Regions from separate parts of the Homo sapiens genome. Here regions 2 and 3 are each linked to region 1. Evidence: promoter capture Hi-C in 16 types of primary human blood cells and fetal thymus (Javierre and others, 2016). All regions are on one chromosome and are shown on one strand. Each heading gives the region's core, a stretch centred on a gene start or on the middle of the fragment in contact. The rest is flanking DNA. Distances are from core to core; before and after follow the strand shown. Region 1 holds the start of CDK13 (cyclin dependent kinase 13). Region 2 holds the start of SEPTIN7-DT (SEPTIN7 divergent transcript). Region 3 holds the start of STK17A (serine/threonine kinase 17a).

Region 1 (4,478 bases), core at 1-2,500:
CTCCTTGGACGACTTAGTCCGGCTGCGGTGGGCCTTCGAGTCCCGGTCCTTGCGGCTGCTACTGCTGCTGGATGTGGCCGAAGCGCTTTTCCGGCGGCCGCCGCTGCTGCTGCTGCTGCCGCTCTTGGCGACCTCGGCCCGTTCCTCGCCGCTGTGGCTGTGGCGGCTGCGGGACTTGGAGGCCTCGCTGCCACCGCGCTGCCCATCCCGCCGCCGGTGCTCGCGGTGGCGCTCCTTGCTGCGGCCACTGCTGCTGCGGCGGTCCCGGCGGGGCCTGCGCTCCGACCCCTCCCCGCGCCGCTGGGTGCCGGAGGAGGAGGCCGGACTCCCGCCGCTGCCCCCCGTTCCCCCGGCAGCCGTCGCCGCCGTTGCCGCGCTGGCCCCCCCCAGCAGCAGCCCCTGCTCGGACTGGGAGCTCACATCCTCGTATTCCACCAGCGGGGTCACACCCCCGCCGCTACTAGCACCGCCACCGCCGTCCTGCTGCGGCTGGGGCAGCGAGAAGACCCGACGCTTCTCCGCCTCCTGCCCGGCGCGGGGCCCGCGACGCCGCTTCTGCCGCCCTCCTGCGCGCCTCTTGCCTCTCGCCAGCCGCTTGACCTCCAGAGGGGGGCCCGGGCTGAAGCAAGAGGAGGAGGCCGCGGCGGCGGCGGCTGCGGCGGCGGCCGTGCCGGGAGCAGCCAGGAAGAGCAGAGGCGGCGGGGGCGGCGGCGGTTGCAGGAGCTGCGGCTGCAGGAGCGGCAACAGCAGCGGCGGCTGCTGAGGGGACAGGAATCGCCTCCGCTTGCGGCGTTCCTCCAACTTCTTCTCCGCCCAGCTCAGGCCCCCGCCTCCCCCCAGCGCCGTGTCCGAGCTGCTCGGCATCGCCTAGAGCCAGCCGCAGAGCGCGGCGCGGGTGCGGCCTCCTCCCGGGTCAGATCCTGGCCATCTCCCCCGCCGGAAACGGGAGCGGCGGCGGAGGGACACCGAGCACCAGAGCCGGCCGGGAAAAGCGCCACGATAATCCGGGTCGGGACTCGGGTCCCTGGGTTCCAGGTCACAGTGGGGTACGCAGCAGCCTCCGGGCCCCAGGGAAGCAGGAATCCGGGCGGCGGAGCTCCCGATTGCGCTCGTCGTCCTATCCTCGGCAGCGAAAACACCAGATGCGCCGGGCGCTGACCTGCGGGGGAGTCCCGAGTCCTCCAAGTGCCCCCGGGGGTGGGGGAGCGGCCTTGGCCGCGCTCTCGGCTCGGGCAGCGCAACGCGGAAGTACCACCTTCGTCGCCGCTTCACTCCATCGCGCCCTGACGTTGGGTGCAAGTTCAGGGGAGGGGAGTGGGCGAGACAACAACACGCCTCCACCGCCTCCTCCTCGGCGTCGACGTCGTCCTCCTGTGGTGGCGGCGACACACCGCAGGCGCCTCGGAAGTGGCCTGGGCCTGACAACAACTCCCGGCCTAGGGCCTCGCGCACTCTGCGGCCCGCGGGGCTGGGCAGCGGGGCGGGGCGAGGCGGGGGCGACCGGGCTGCGGCTCTCGGTTGGGGCAGCGACTGTGCGGGGCTGGGCGGGGGGCTATTTCCGGGGAGATGGGGGCAGGGGCGTTTCTGAGTCTGTGGCGGTAGGTACGGGCCCTGACTTTCTTCTTCTTTCGCCGCCGCCGCCGCCGCCAGCAGAGGTGGCGGAGCTACCCCTTTCCTCCGCTCCCCCCCTCCACGAGGAGGCTCCTGGTGTGCGCGGCCTGCCCCGGCTCGCTCCTCCCCTTCCCTCTCCGCTCCTCGTCAGGAGGAGGGAGAGCAACGGGACTTGCTGGTTGGGCCCTAACCTCCACAACCCCTCCTTCTCGCCTCGCTCTTTCGGCTTTTCCCCTCAGCCCTGACGTACGACCGGGAGCGCGCCCGCAATTCACGCTCAGAGAAAGCCGAAGATGAGAGGTGGCCGGGGCAAGAGAGGCGGGAACAAAGTTACCGCGCACTGGCGTGCTCGCTCCCGCCAGGGGCCGGCAGGCCGCACCGGAAGTGGCATGATGTAGAAACCGCTCGGCTTCCGGCGAGGGTGGGACTCCGTGTGAAGAAGGGTTAAAGAAAGGAGAGGATTCGTGTGCCGCCCACTGCTGTTGCTTGAGACTCTGCCCGTGGTGGCGCGCCTGTCGTGCTTGTTGCTTGCGTCCAGCGCGCAGTGCCGGTTCCGGCTCTGCAGACGCCGCACTGCCTGCCTGTTGAGCGAAAGGTCACAGTGAGAACAAGTGTTTCTGGAGACTGCGAGGGAAATAATGCTGTTGGTGGCCTTCTGGAGTAGGCAGTTACCCCCCGTGTACCTTCAGTCAAGCCCTGGGAGTGGAACAGCTGCGAAAGGAGAGAAAACACCCCGCAAAACAGGGTGGAGATGGCGTTGGTTTAACTTGTCTCACGTACGCCAAAGTTCGAGGCCCCATTTTTTTTTTTTTTTTTTTTGAGACTGAGTTTCGCTCTCGTTGCCCAGGCTGGAGTGCAATGGTGCGATCTCGGCTCACCGCAACTTCCGCGAGGCCCCTTCTTATCCTAAAAAACACACTTGGGAATCACAGCTCAAGCTTCGGTAACACTATTTACTTTAAAATAAAAATTTTTAAAGCTTTAAATCAATACAGGAAATAAGTGGAATGTTAAAAGGAACTACTGAAAATTCCAAATTCTCAGGAGGCTTGAAATAAAAACATCTTGTGCGAATGAGGACTGCCCTCTTAGTACTTCACCCACTTTCACCTTCATATCTAAACCTTTGGGGTTGCCAAACATAGCCATATAGTGACCTCACATCTCATTTCTTGCCTTAGAATTGCCCTTCAGTTACAGACTAAGCACTCGGGATAATTAGATTAAAATGTAAATGGCTTATTGGCTTTTAGAATGGTTGGAAACGCAAGCTAACCCTGTGCAGTGGCACACGCCTGTAGTCCCAGCTACTCCGGAGGCTGAGGCAGGAGGATCTCTGGAGCTCAAGAGTTCGAGGCTGGAGTGAGCCATGACCGTGCCACAGCACCCCAGCCTGGCCAATCAGCAGGGCGAGGCCCTGCCTCTAATAAAAGAAAAAGCTAAGCCGTCTGTTCAATGACTAAATGTAGTAACCCCTTTGAAAATTCATTTGTTCAGATCATCAGTTGGTTTAGTTCTTAAACACTTGGTATCTATCCATCGTTAATACCTTAGTGTAAATTATTTTAATCAGTTTGACATCACAGTATCACAGACTGGCCTGATTTAAGCTAAGATCAGACTTCACTGACCGAGTACAAAGGATGTTGGTTTGCTGAAGGATAAAGGAGGAGGCAAAGGAATAGGTAATCTTAAAGTCAGAGCATTTCCCAGGAGGGCAGGCCTGGGTGGGCAACACCATGGGATGGGCATTGGGAAACTGAATAGAAAAATAGGGGGCAGGGTTCCTAAAACAAATTTCTGGTTGACAGTATTGTTGAGTGAAGGTCCTGTAGCCAGCCTCCTACCAAAGACTGTTTAGCAAGTGGCTTTTTCAGAAACATGTAGGATCAACTTGTTCCATCGTCCTACGTTAGATAGACTGGAATAACAGAACAAAGAGAGCAAATAAGAGGTTTAGCTTGCAGCTCCCCTCGTGTACAACCAGTTCCACTTGAGAATGTCATCTTCTATCATATATTTTCAAAGAAAACTTGATCCATAGTAAATGGATAATTCCCATGTGTAAGTGTATTAAATGGAGAAGAAGGGAAAAAAAGTAAATGGATAGTTCCCAATCCAGGGTGCAAACAAAAAACATGTACTAAAATATTTTTACTGTGGTTCTACCACCCACGTTTCCTCAAAGATTCTACCTTTGGTGGGGGAGGTTGAATGAACATTTTGAGCTCAAGATACCTGCCCACGTGGTTGGAAACACTAATAACTAATAGGATTCAAACTCCAAAAAATGGGAAGGACCTTTGAATTAGAAGCCGTCTGTTTCTATAAGCCTGTCTGCTTGCCTGAATATTAAAGAGATTTGAAATTCCCATTTACGACTATATTTTTGTTTATTACTGCTTGTGTGTGGGGGGGTGGGGAGTTCGTGTTTTGTTTTGTTTTTGTTTTTGTTTTTTTTGAGACAGAGTTTTGCTCTTGTCGCCTAGGCTGGAGTGCAGGGGTGCAATCTTGGCTTACTGCAACCTCCGCCCCCCAGGTTCAAGCGATTCTCCTGCCTCAGCCTCCCGTGTAGCTGGGATTACAGTTGCCCGCCACCATGCCGAGCTAATTTTTTTGTATTTTTAGTAGAAACGGGGTTTTGTCATGTTGAGCAGGCTGGTCTCAAACTCCTGACCTCAGGTGATCCGCCCGCCTCGGCCTCCCAAAGTGCTGGGATGACAGGCGTGAGCCACTGCACCAGGCCCCAGACTCATCTTTTATGCAGTTCAGAGGCCCACAGTGTTAGCACTTTTTTTTCAGAAGTGCAATATTGCTTCTATGTGCTGGGGAGTGGGAATTCTTGCTGGTTCAGTAAAGCTGAGGGA
Region 2 (4,478 bases), core at 624-3,123, 4.1 Mb after region 1:
TTCATCAAAATAAAAAAGCCAGAAGAAAGAATTCTTAAAGCTGAACTATTTAGCAATAAACTCAAGAAATGTAGTAAGTTATTATTTCAGTAACTAAGAAAACACCTGGACGTCACAAATTCTTTCCTAGGACTGTAAAAACCCAAATTTGAAACAGTGTACTCTTCAAAAGTAACTCAGCAAATGGAAATGTCCTAGAAAAATCTCGGTTGCTTATTTCTTACTATACACACAGCTGAAATGGAACTCAGGAGTGGAAAATGTAAATGAAATGGCCTGTTCTTTTTCCAACATGTGGGGGAGGAAAGGAAATGAAAGGGCTCGTTAAGAGAATAACTGAGAATATTGAAATATTTTCAAAAATTAATTTCCCTAAACTTCGCCACTCCACATCTCCGCTCCCTCCCTTTTCCAAGGACCCTTCCCACCCTTTCTATCTCCTCCGGGGGGCGCCCTTCCCAGGCGTTCTCTTTCCCTTACTCCTAAAAATTAAGCCCAAATTCCAAACCAAACTACCGATTCTCCCTCCGTTCTCAAGACTCGCCCGCCATCCACCGGCCTTCCGGGCTGCGCCTGGAGAGAGGCAACCCCGAGAGGCGGGAGGAGGAGCGGGGAGGCGACGCGGTGACTGGAGCTGCGGCTGCAGCCGCCGCCGCCGCCTCCACCACAGCCTCAGCCTGGTGCATCCTTCTTCCTCCCTCCCCGCCGCCGCCCGCCCGGGTTGGCCCACACAGCACCCTCGCCCGAGCGTTCACACTCGTCCCCACCCTCCTAGCCAGGCCCACTGCCCCACGAGGGGACTTCTGCCGACGGGGATGCGGCCGGGGACAGGAGGAAGCGGGGCCGCGGAAGCCGGCGGGCCCGGGAGGAGACTGAGGAAAGGCGAAGGGACGGAGAGAAGCAAGGGCAGGGCTGAGACCACCACGCTCAGGCTGCTCCGGCCGCGGAGGCCGCGGCTCTGCGCCGGGGGCCAGCCCGCCGCGGCACAGGAAATGCCGCCGCCTCGGCTCTCCTCACGTTCAATTCAAACTGTCACCGCCGCCGCCTCCCCTCCCCCCGAGCCCGCCGCTGCCGCGCCCCGGGCCCGCAGTGGCCCCCATCCCGGCTCCCCTCGCCGCTGCCTCCGCCTCGCCTCAGGGCGTTCCCTAGCTCGGTCCAGCGGCCGCAGAGCTTCCCGGCATTCGGAGCCGCTGACCCCAAGTCGCGGCACCCGAAGCTGAGACTCACCCATGGTGCTGCTGTTGACGCTCCTCTCCTCAGCAGCAGCGGATCTCGCACTGACCGACATCCCCTCCCCCCCTCCGCGACCAGCCCCAGCGGAGCGCAGCCCGCCGATTCTCCAAAGGCGCCTACGCCGATTCCGCAGCGTAGCCGCCCGGCGTAGCTGCCTTGCTTACGCACGCTACAGCAGGCGGACTCCTCCACAGGCTCTCGCTCGACTCCCGCTCCCTCCTCCGTCCCCCGCCCCCTCAGACGAGGCTTCCGGGCCTAGCGGAGGCTGGCTTCCATCTCGCGAGATTACCGCCTCCCCAGCTCCGCCGCCTCGCTCCATTTCGAGCATGACTTCATTGGCGTCAGCAACGTTTTGCTGTTCGGGTTTAGCCGCCATGTTTAAGTTGGCCGGGTTTCGCACCACTGAGGTCATGGATACTCAGGCCTCTTTGCGTGTTTCTTCAACACTGCTTCTAAGGTTAACCGCGTTACATTTGTTGGAGAAAATCCTGGGAACGCTGAAAAGGACTAGTGGGTGGGGTGCGAGGGTGGGGTCTTGCCCGAATTAAAGATGGCCGCAGTCAGCTCTGCCCCGCGCAATTTCACGTCAAGTTTTGGAGCTGCGGGAGCCGGCCAGTTGGCCTCAGCGCCTCCTTACGGAATTGGCGTAAGGCAAAGAGGCGCGGCTGGAAGAACCAGACTGAGAAAGTGCCACAGGGCGGGGGCCGCATCCGCCCCTCGGCTTCTGGTTACTGACCCGACGGCTTTGTGAGTGAAAGTGAAGAGACACTTCGAGGCAGGTGTCTGTGCTCCCCATTCATCCCTGTTTCCGTGGCTATCTTGACTTTCGGGGTGAAAAGTGAGGTTAGGCCCTGTTTCCCCGACCCTTCCCTCGCGCCATCACACTCTAGTGGCCTGGCACAGCCCCAGAGGTCGGCCGCTGTAGCCCCCATTGCGGACTCGCCACATTCATATTGGCTCACCTTGTCGGTGCCCGGTTCGGTCCTCTTGGAGCTCACACTCCAGTTGAGGAAATGAATGGACACAGGAACTACTGGGTAACAAAATACTAATAAAGGGCTGCGATTGTGTGAGTTTCTACTGTAGCGATGAATGTCGCTGTCATTGGAACGTTCCCCAAGTGCCTTCTAGTGAAAGCCTTACTTCACTCGGAATAACCTGTGGTCTTTTCTTGAACGTGATGGCTCTCTTGGTTGTATTCTTCATGCACATGTGTTACTTTTCCTGTTTAACTACATGTTAAAGAAATGTGTATGTTCCTGTTTAACTGCATGTTTTAAAAAAGTATGTGTATTTTTAAGTTATAGGCACGTGCAAGAAAGTTCAGAGCAAAATAGCTTATATTAGTGAAACAATAAATGTCTACTAATAGGAGAATGGATGAATAAGTGTCATTGTTGAACAAATTGACATACAACACGAACCAAAAAATCAGTGAACTAAAGCTACCATTTTTCATATGGATAGAGTCATTAACCTAATATTGAGGAAGAAATGAAAAGACAGGTTGCGGAAAGATATATATGACATACCATAAATAAAAGTTTAATAATTACAAAAAAGTAAGATCAAACTAAAAATTGTATAAGGAAATGATAGATACCAAATTCAGAATACTGGTTGCTTCCAGAGATGAACAGAAGGGAATGTAACAAGAAGGGTTCATTTGTATCTATAACGTTTGTTTTCTACCAGAAATATCTTGAAAATGTGGCAAAACATTAAGCTAAGTAGAGGGCACATGGGTGTTCACTTGTAATTATTTCCTTTACTGTTCTATATACTTGAAATATTTCCAAGTAATTTTTTTTAAGAAAAGAAACTTATAGAAGCAACTTATTTTGTATCTTGATATATGCCATTTCGTAAGTCTACATTTTTACTGAACTGCTTATGAAGTCTGTTGCAACTTATCTGTTCAATCATTGTTTTAAGTTTCTGAAACTTCAAATGAACTTTTACTTTGGGAAATTTTGTTGAATTTCTATTTTTGAAAAAAAGCAGTGTACCAAGGAGGGTAAATGTATATAGCCTCCGGAGTCAGACTGCCTGAGTTCAAATCCCAGCTCTCCATTTATTAGGCTTGCAACCAAGAACAAGTTACTTAAACTTTCCTGTGATCCAGTTTCCTCATCTATAAACGGAGATAATACTTATCTAACAGGATTTTGATAAGAGTTAAATAGACTAATACATGAACACGGTGCTTAGTCAATGCTTAGTAAATATTACCTAAATATAGATTATTTTAAAATATAAAATTAAAGCAAATACTTATATTAATATAACCTAATAGTCTAAAGGAAGTAAATCTTTGCCTCCCATCTCTATTGATAATATTTCTTTGAGGAAGATCTCTTAATGGGTATGAAAGAGGTGAATTGTGTTATTTTGTGCTATGAAAATGGATAAATTCTTAATAGAAACTATATTAAATTCCTTGTCTGAAGTTTGTTCATGTTCACCCCACACTATGATAGCTTCACTACTTTTCATTGAAAATCACACAGAGTGGCCGGGCGCGGTGGCTCACGCCTGTAATCCCAGCACTTTGGGAGGCCGAGGCAGGCAGATCGCCTGAGGTCAGGAGTTCGAGACCAGCCTGGCTAACATGGTGAAACCCCGCATCTACTAAAAATACAAAAAATTAGCCGGGTGTGGTGGCGGTACCTGTAATTCCTGCTACTCGGGAGACTGAGGCAGGAGAATCACTTGAACCCAGGAGGCGGAGGTTACAGTGAGCCCAGATAGCACCACTGCACTCCAGCCTGGGCAACAAGAGCGAAATTCCGTCTCAAAAAAAAAAAAGAAAAAATTATACGGAGTGTTACAGGCAATGAAATAATGATATTCTGAGGAACTTTCTTTGTAGGGAGGTTTCATAGCCAATGTTCTATAATGTATATACATGTGTTATGCAAATTATACGTGGTGCACGAGGAAAGAGAATTGTATTGATCTTATGATCTCTTTATTGCACTTATTTGCAATATTTATGATCTCTTTATTGCATTTATTTGTTAATAAAATATAGCCTAGACTTTACTGACTCAGAAACAGATTTAAAAAAACTGATCTGAAATTCTGGACAGACCATATAGATGGTTTCCACCACATATTTACAGCGTCCAAACTCACGTGGGCCTTCAACTTTACCAAGCAATGCTTGTTTCCCTAGTTGGCTCTCTCTTAATTTCCACAACAGCCACTTCTGATTTTCTCCTTATTTTTCAAACCACTCCCCT
Region 3 (4,478 bases), core at 97-2,596, 3.6 Mb before region 1:
TATGCGCTTGACAAGCATGGCATCTTCAGGCCACCTCTGAGGTAGGTACTGTCATCATTATACGATTTTACGGATGAGGAAAGTGAGGCTGGAGAGTCTAACCCCTCCAAAGGCAAACACAGCAAGAAGGGCACGAATATGAACTCAGGTCTGCCCCCAAAGCCAGAGTATTTAACAACTTCTTCAAACTGTTCTCAAGGAAGAGTCGCCAAACCCCACAAAAATCACTCGATCACCCCTCTTCAGCATACAAAATGTAAAGCATCCGAACAGCCTGCACCTGCAACTTTACAGACCAAGTTGTAAGCTCTCTCTACTCCCACAAAAAAAGGGTGGGCTAGCGTGGGGTGGGGGGAGAAGGCAAGAATCGGTTCCCAGCAAAGTAAAAAGCGAGAAAAGGGCCAAGCGCCCACGAAAGAAACCAATCTAAACTCGAAGCAAAGGGACCTAAATGCTTTAGAACTAAAACGGCAGAAAACCAACCAAGAAAACGAAAATGAATTCAGCAGAAGACCGACACAAGGTAACAGAGCGCCGGTGCAAAGGAAGCGGTCACAACGGATGCTGTATTTTATTAAAACCACACAGGCAGACCAAGAAAGTCGCAAGAGTTGAAGGAAAAATGCAAAGTCGGCTCCACAGACCTCTGGTTTTCAGACCCGCTGCTCGGGGTGAAAGGCAGAGCGCGGCCCGCACCTTCTCTCGTTAAATAGCCATTCGAAACGCCACAGAGAACGAAAGGGCTGAGGAAAGTGTCCGCGCCTCCGGGACCGCCATCGAGTTACCACCACTCGCTTGCTGGGCGCGGCGCGTGGAGGGGGCGCTGGTGCGACTCGGCTGCCCTACTTGCCGTCGGCACCCAAGTTTGTGCCAAGTCACAACGCGCGTTATCGGCAGCAGCAACGCCACTTCAGCCTCGCCGCCGCGGCGCCGGCACTTATCGGCGCCCACGTCCCGCCCCGCGCGTCCGGGAAGGTTCCGCGCCGGGCCCCGCCCGTCCTCACCTGCCCAGCTCCCGGCCCGGGCACAGGCTGTAGCCGTCCTGGAAGGGCTCGGTGCGCACCACGGCGCGTATCTCTGTCAGCAGCCCGCGGGCCTGGGGCGGCGGCGGCGGCCGGCACGGCCCGCTCAGACCCCGGCCTGCCCGGCCCGAGCCTGAGGTGGCGCCTGGGGAGGAGCCGCCGCTGCCTGGCTTCTCCAAAGGGATCATGGTGTTCAGGCCCGCTTCTTTCCTGGCCGCCTGTTCACTCCGAGCAGCCGGAGGGTCACGGACCCGCCCCCGGCTCCTAGTGCCGGTCCGCGGAGCCTTCAAACACCCGCTCTCCCCAGCGCGGCGCTCGGACTGCGGCAGGCAGACTACCGGTAGCTCGGGCCCGCCCCGCGCCCCGCGACCGGCCCCGCCCCCGTGACCGCCCCGCGCCTGCCCTGCACCCTGCTTCTGGCCCCGGCCAACCCCTCCCCACGTCCGCCCCGCGCCCGACCCCGCCCCGGCCTCACTCCGTGGCCGCCCGCCCCCTCGCTGAGCTCCCGCGGGGTCCTGAGCGCCCGATGCCTCACGCGCGCCCTCTGCAGCTCAGGGGGAGAAGGTGCAGCTTTCGGGACGGCCCGGAGGCTGGAGGCGACTCACAGCACCACCCTTTGGCCAGGACAGCCTACTGCGTTAGCAGAGTTGCGCACCTGTTGAGCGTCTGAGAGTCACAAAAGCTGACCTTCGGTTAATAAAAGGCATTTGAGCTGTAAGCGGGACTTCACGTGGTGAGGAGGGGAGGGGTCTGGAGGCACTTCGGTTAATAAAAGGCATTTGAGCTGTAAGCAGGACTTCACGTGGTGGGGAGGGGTGATGAGATCCTGATCTCCGTACACTGGGAGAGGGGTCTGGAGGCAGAGTTGTATAAATATTATTAACCCTGCACACCGGCCCTATGAAATAGACACTATTATATTGTCTGTAGTCGTCTCTATATTTACTTTCGAGGTCCTCTCATCCGGTCTTACGACTTTAATTACCATCTATATGCTCATGACTACAGAATTTGTATCTCTAGCTTCCAAATATTCCCTGAACTTCAGACTGGTGTATTTGACTATGCATTTGGCATCTCCACTTACATGTCAAATTAGCATCTCAGACTTAACATACACAAAAGTAAGTTGCTGATTGGTCTTCATGAATGCACTCCTACCCAGCTTTCCCCGTCTCAGTTTTCTTCATCTCCTTCCTTCTAGCTGTTCAGGCCAAAAATCTTGGGATGAGCATTGATTCCTCTCTCATGCTCATCTCCAGTTTGTCAGTAAACCCTCTTGTCTTTTCCTTCAAACTAGATGCGGCGTTTGATCACTTCTCTCTATTTCCACCTTACCACCATGGCCTGAGCCATCGTTATCTCTTACCTGGATTATTGTGATAGTTTACTAACTGGACCACCTGCTTCCATCCTTCTTTCTCCCTAATGTCGCATAGTTCATTTTCAAGGCAATGAGAGTGATCTTTTAAAAATCGAAACCAAATCACACCACTGCTCTACTCAGACTGTCTCAGTGGAGTTTTGCTTCTGGCACTGATATACTAGTTTATTTGTGTTCAATATTCTCACTAAGAAAAAATAGAAAAGTTGACAAAAGTTAAAAATTTCCTCTCCCAGCAAGGACTTGGATGACTGAAATCCTGGAAAGATAGGCAGCTCAGAAAGCCACCACTTTTCCCATGAGGTATTTGATGATTTTAAAGCCATGGCTGAAAGAGTGAGAAAGTAAGCAGAGCTTTCAGTCATCTCATGGGGTTGGGGAGACAAAAAAAAAATTGGAGTTTAGGACCTATTTATGATGAGGGGCTGGTAAGCAACTAGGCTTTCAGCTGGGACTCCGAAGAGCTATACCCTAGGGGTGTGGATGAACGGGAAATAGACCCAAGGGCTGAAAACCAGCTTCAAATGGCAACAGTAAATATTCTCTCTGGGGAAAAAAAGCATCATTCAGAGCAACACATTACCCATATAATATTTTATACACCATGTCTGAAACTTAATTTAAACAAAGGACACAGAATTGTCTTAAAAACTAAGGGAAAAAGAAAACAGAAATAAACACACAGAAGATCCAGATATTAAAGTTTAAAGACAGATTTTAAAATAATTCTGTTAAATATCTTCAAGAAATTAAATTGCAAGATAAAGAGTTTTCAGCAGAGAACTGGAAACTCCAAAGAAGAATACAATGGAATTTTGGAATTGGAGAAAAAAACACACTAACTAAAACTACTACAGAATTATGGGCTTAATAACAGATGAGATACAACTTAAGCAAGAATTAGTGAAGCTAATAAGCAAAACAAAATATGAAAAATGACATACAAGAGATATGAAAGAACTTTCTATAAAAGAGATAAGGTCTCAGAAAGGAGACTATGACACATGTGATATGTGGTAAAACATTCTAACACACACGTAATTGGAATATCAGGAAGAGAGGTGAGAGAAAAAAGGAAAAGAAGCAGTATTTGAAAAGATAACGGCTGGAAATTTTTTAAAACTAATGAACAACAATTCTCAGAGTCAAGAAACATTATGAACATAGAGCAGGATTTCAAGCAAAGAAAACCATGTCTAGGCACATTGTAAACTACTGAGAAACAAAATCAAAAAGAAAAGGTTTAAAATCAGCAAAGAAAACAGAGATATAATCTGCAAATGAGCAACAATAAAATTAAAAGCTTATTCTCAAAGAACCAATGGAAGCCTAAACACCTTCAAATGTTTTCAAAGCGCTAGGAGAAATTACCTATCAACCTATATTATATACCCAGTAAAAATGATCTTCAAAATTGAAAATAAAATACAGCCAGTTTTATAACCAAGAAACACTAAGATCATCAGCTGATTTACATTAAAGGAAATTCCAAAAGGAGTTTTTCAGGCAGATGGAATATAATCCCAAATGAAATCATGGAGACATCTAAAGGAATGAAGAGCAATCAATCCTTTTATATATGGATAGATATAAATACATATATATATATGGATAGATATAAATAAACACAATTTATATAAAACAATAAAAATAACGTCATGTGAAGTTTAAATATATGTAGAATTAAAATATACACAATAGCAGCACAAAAAGTGAGATAGAGTAAATGAAAGTAAAGTGTTCTAAAGTCCTAGGATTGTATAGGAATTGATAAAAGTACTTGGCTTTAATACATCAATAATGAATATTATAATCTCTAGAATAACAGCAAAAGTAATAGAAAAAGAATGAATAACATGTAAAAAAGAGGGGAAATGAAAAAATAAAAAATAAAAGAAGCAAGAAAGGGAAAAAAGGAACACAGACAAGTAGAAACAAATAGATGATCACTTTGGGAAGCCAAGGAGGGTAGATCACCTGAGGTCAGGAGTTCGAGACCAGCCTGGTCAACATAGTGAAACCCCCATCTCTATTAAAATAAAACACAAAAAACGAGCTAGGCGTGGTGGTGG

The links. The method cuts DNA at HindIII sites, captures the fragments that hold promoters and counts their contacts. A CHiCAGO score of 5 or more calls a contact.
Region 2: a contact is called between the fragment with the promoter of SEPTIN7-DT here and the fragment with the promoter of CDK13 in region 1, in 3 of 17 cell types (naive CD8 T cells, total CD4 T cells and fetal thymus). The highest score is 7.0, in naive CD8 T cells.
Region 3: the fragment with the promoter of STK17A here is called in contact with the fragment with the promoter of CDK13 in region 1 in 1 of 17 cell types (total B cells); the score reaches 5.2 in total B cells.

The regions. Positions count from the first base shown.
Region 1 is chr7:39,947,028-39,951,505 of GRCh38, reverse strand. It overlaps CDK13 (cyclin dependent kinase 13), which reads right to left and starts at 1,250. Exons shown (of 14, transcript NM_003718.5): 1 at 1-1,250. The coding sequence starts at 864. It overlaps CDK13-DT (CDK13 divergent transcript), which reads left to right and starts at 2,087. Exons shown (of 1, transcript NR_158201.1): 1 at 2,087-3,985. RefSeq lists enhancers at 1-42, 1,183-1,462, 963-1,881, 1,933-2,182, 2,253-2,382 and 4 more and silencers at 253-312, 383-672, 1,463-1,692. The HindIII fragment of the contact is 3,453 bases long and covers 1-2,551 here.
Region 2 is chr7:35,798,020-35,802,497 of GRCh38, reverse strand. SEPTIN7-DT (SEPTIN7 divergent transcript) reads left to right here and starts at 1,873. Exons shown (of 5, transcript NR_120512.1): 1 at 1,873-2,008. SEPTIN7 (septin 7) reads right to left here and starts at 1,441. Exons shown (of 14, transcript NM_001788.6): 1 at 1,228-1,441. The coding sequence starts at 1,288. RefSeq lists silencers at 530-979, 1,010-1,249 and enhancers at 1,400-1,789, 1,404-2,027, 2,150-2,209. The HindIII fragment of the contact is 5,766 bases long and covers 1-4,478 here.
Region 3 is chr7:43,579,976-43,584,453 of GRCh38, reverse strand. It overlaps STK17A (serine/threonine kinase 17a), which reads right to left and starts at 1,346. Exons shown (of 7, transcript NM_004760.3): 1 at 1,005-1,346. The coding sequence starts at 1,210. RefSeq lists enhancers at 257-366, 497-546 and a silencer at 947-1,726. The HindIII fragment of the contact is 5,737 bases long and covers 1-3,711 here.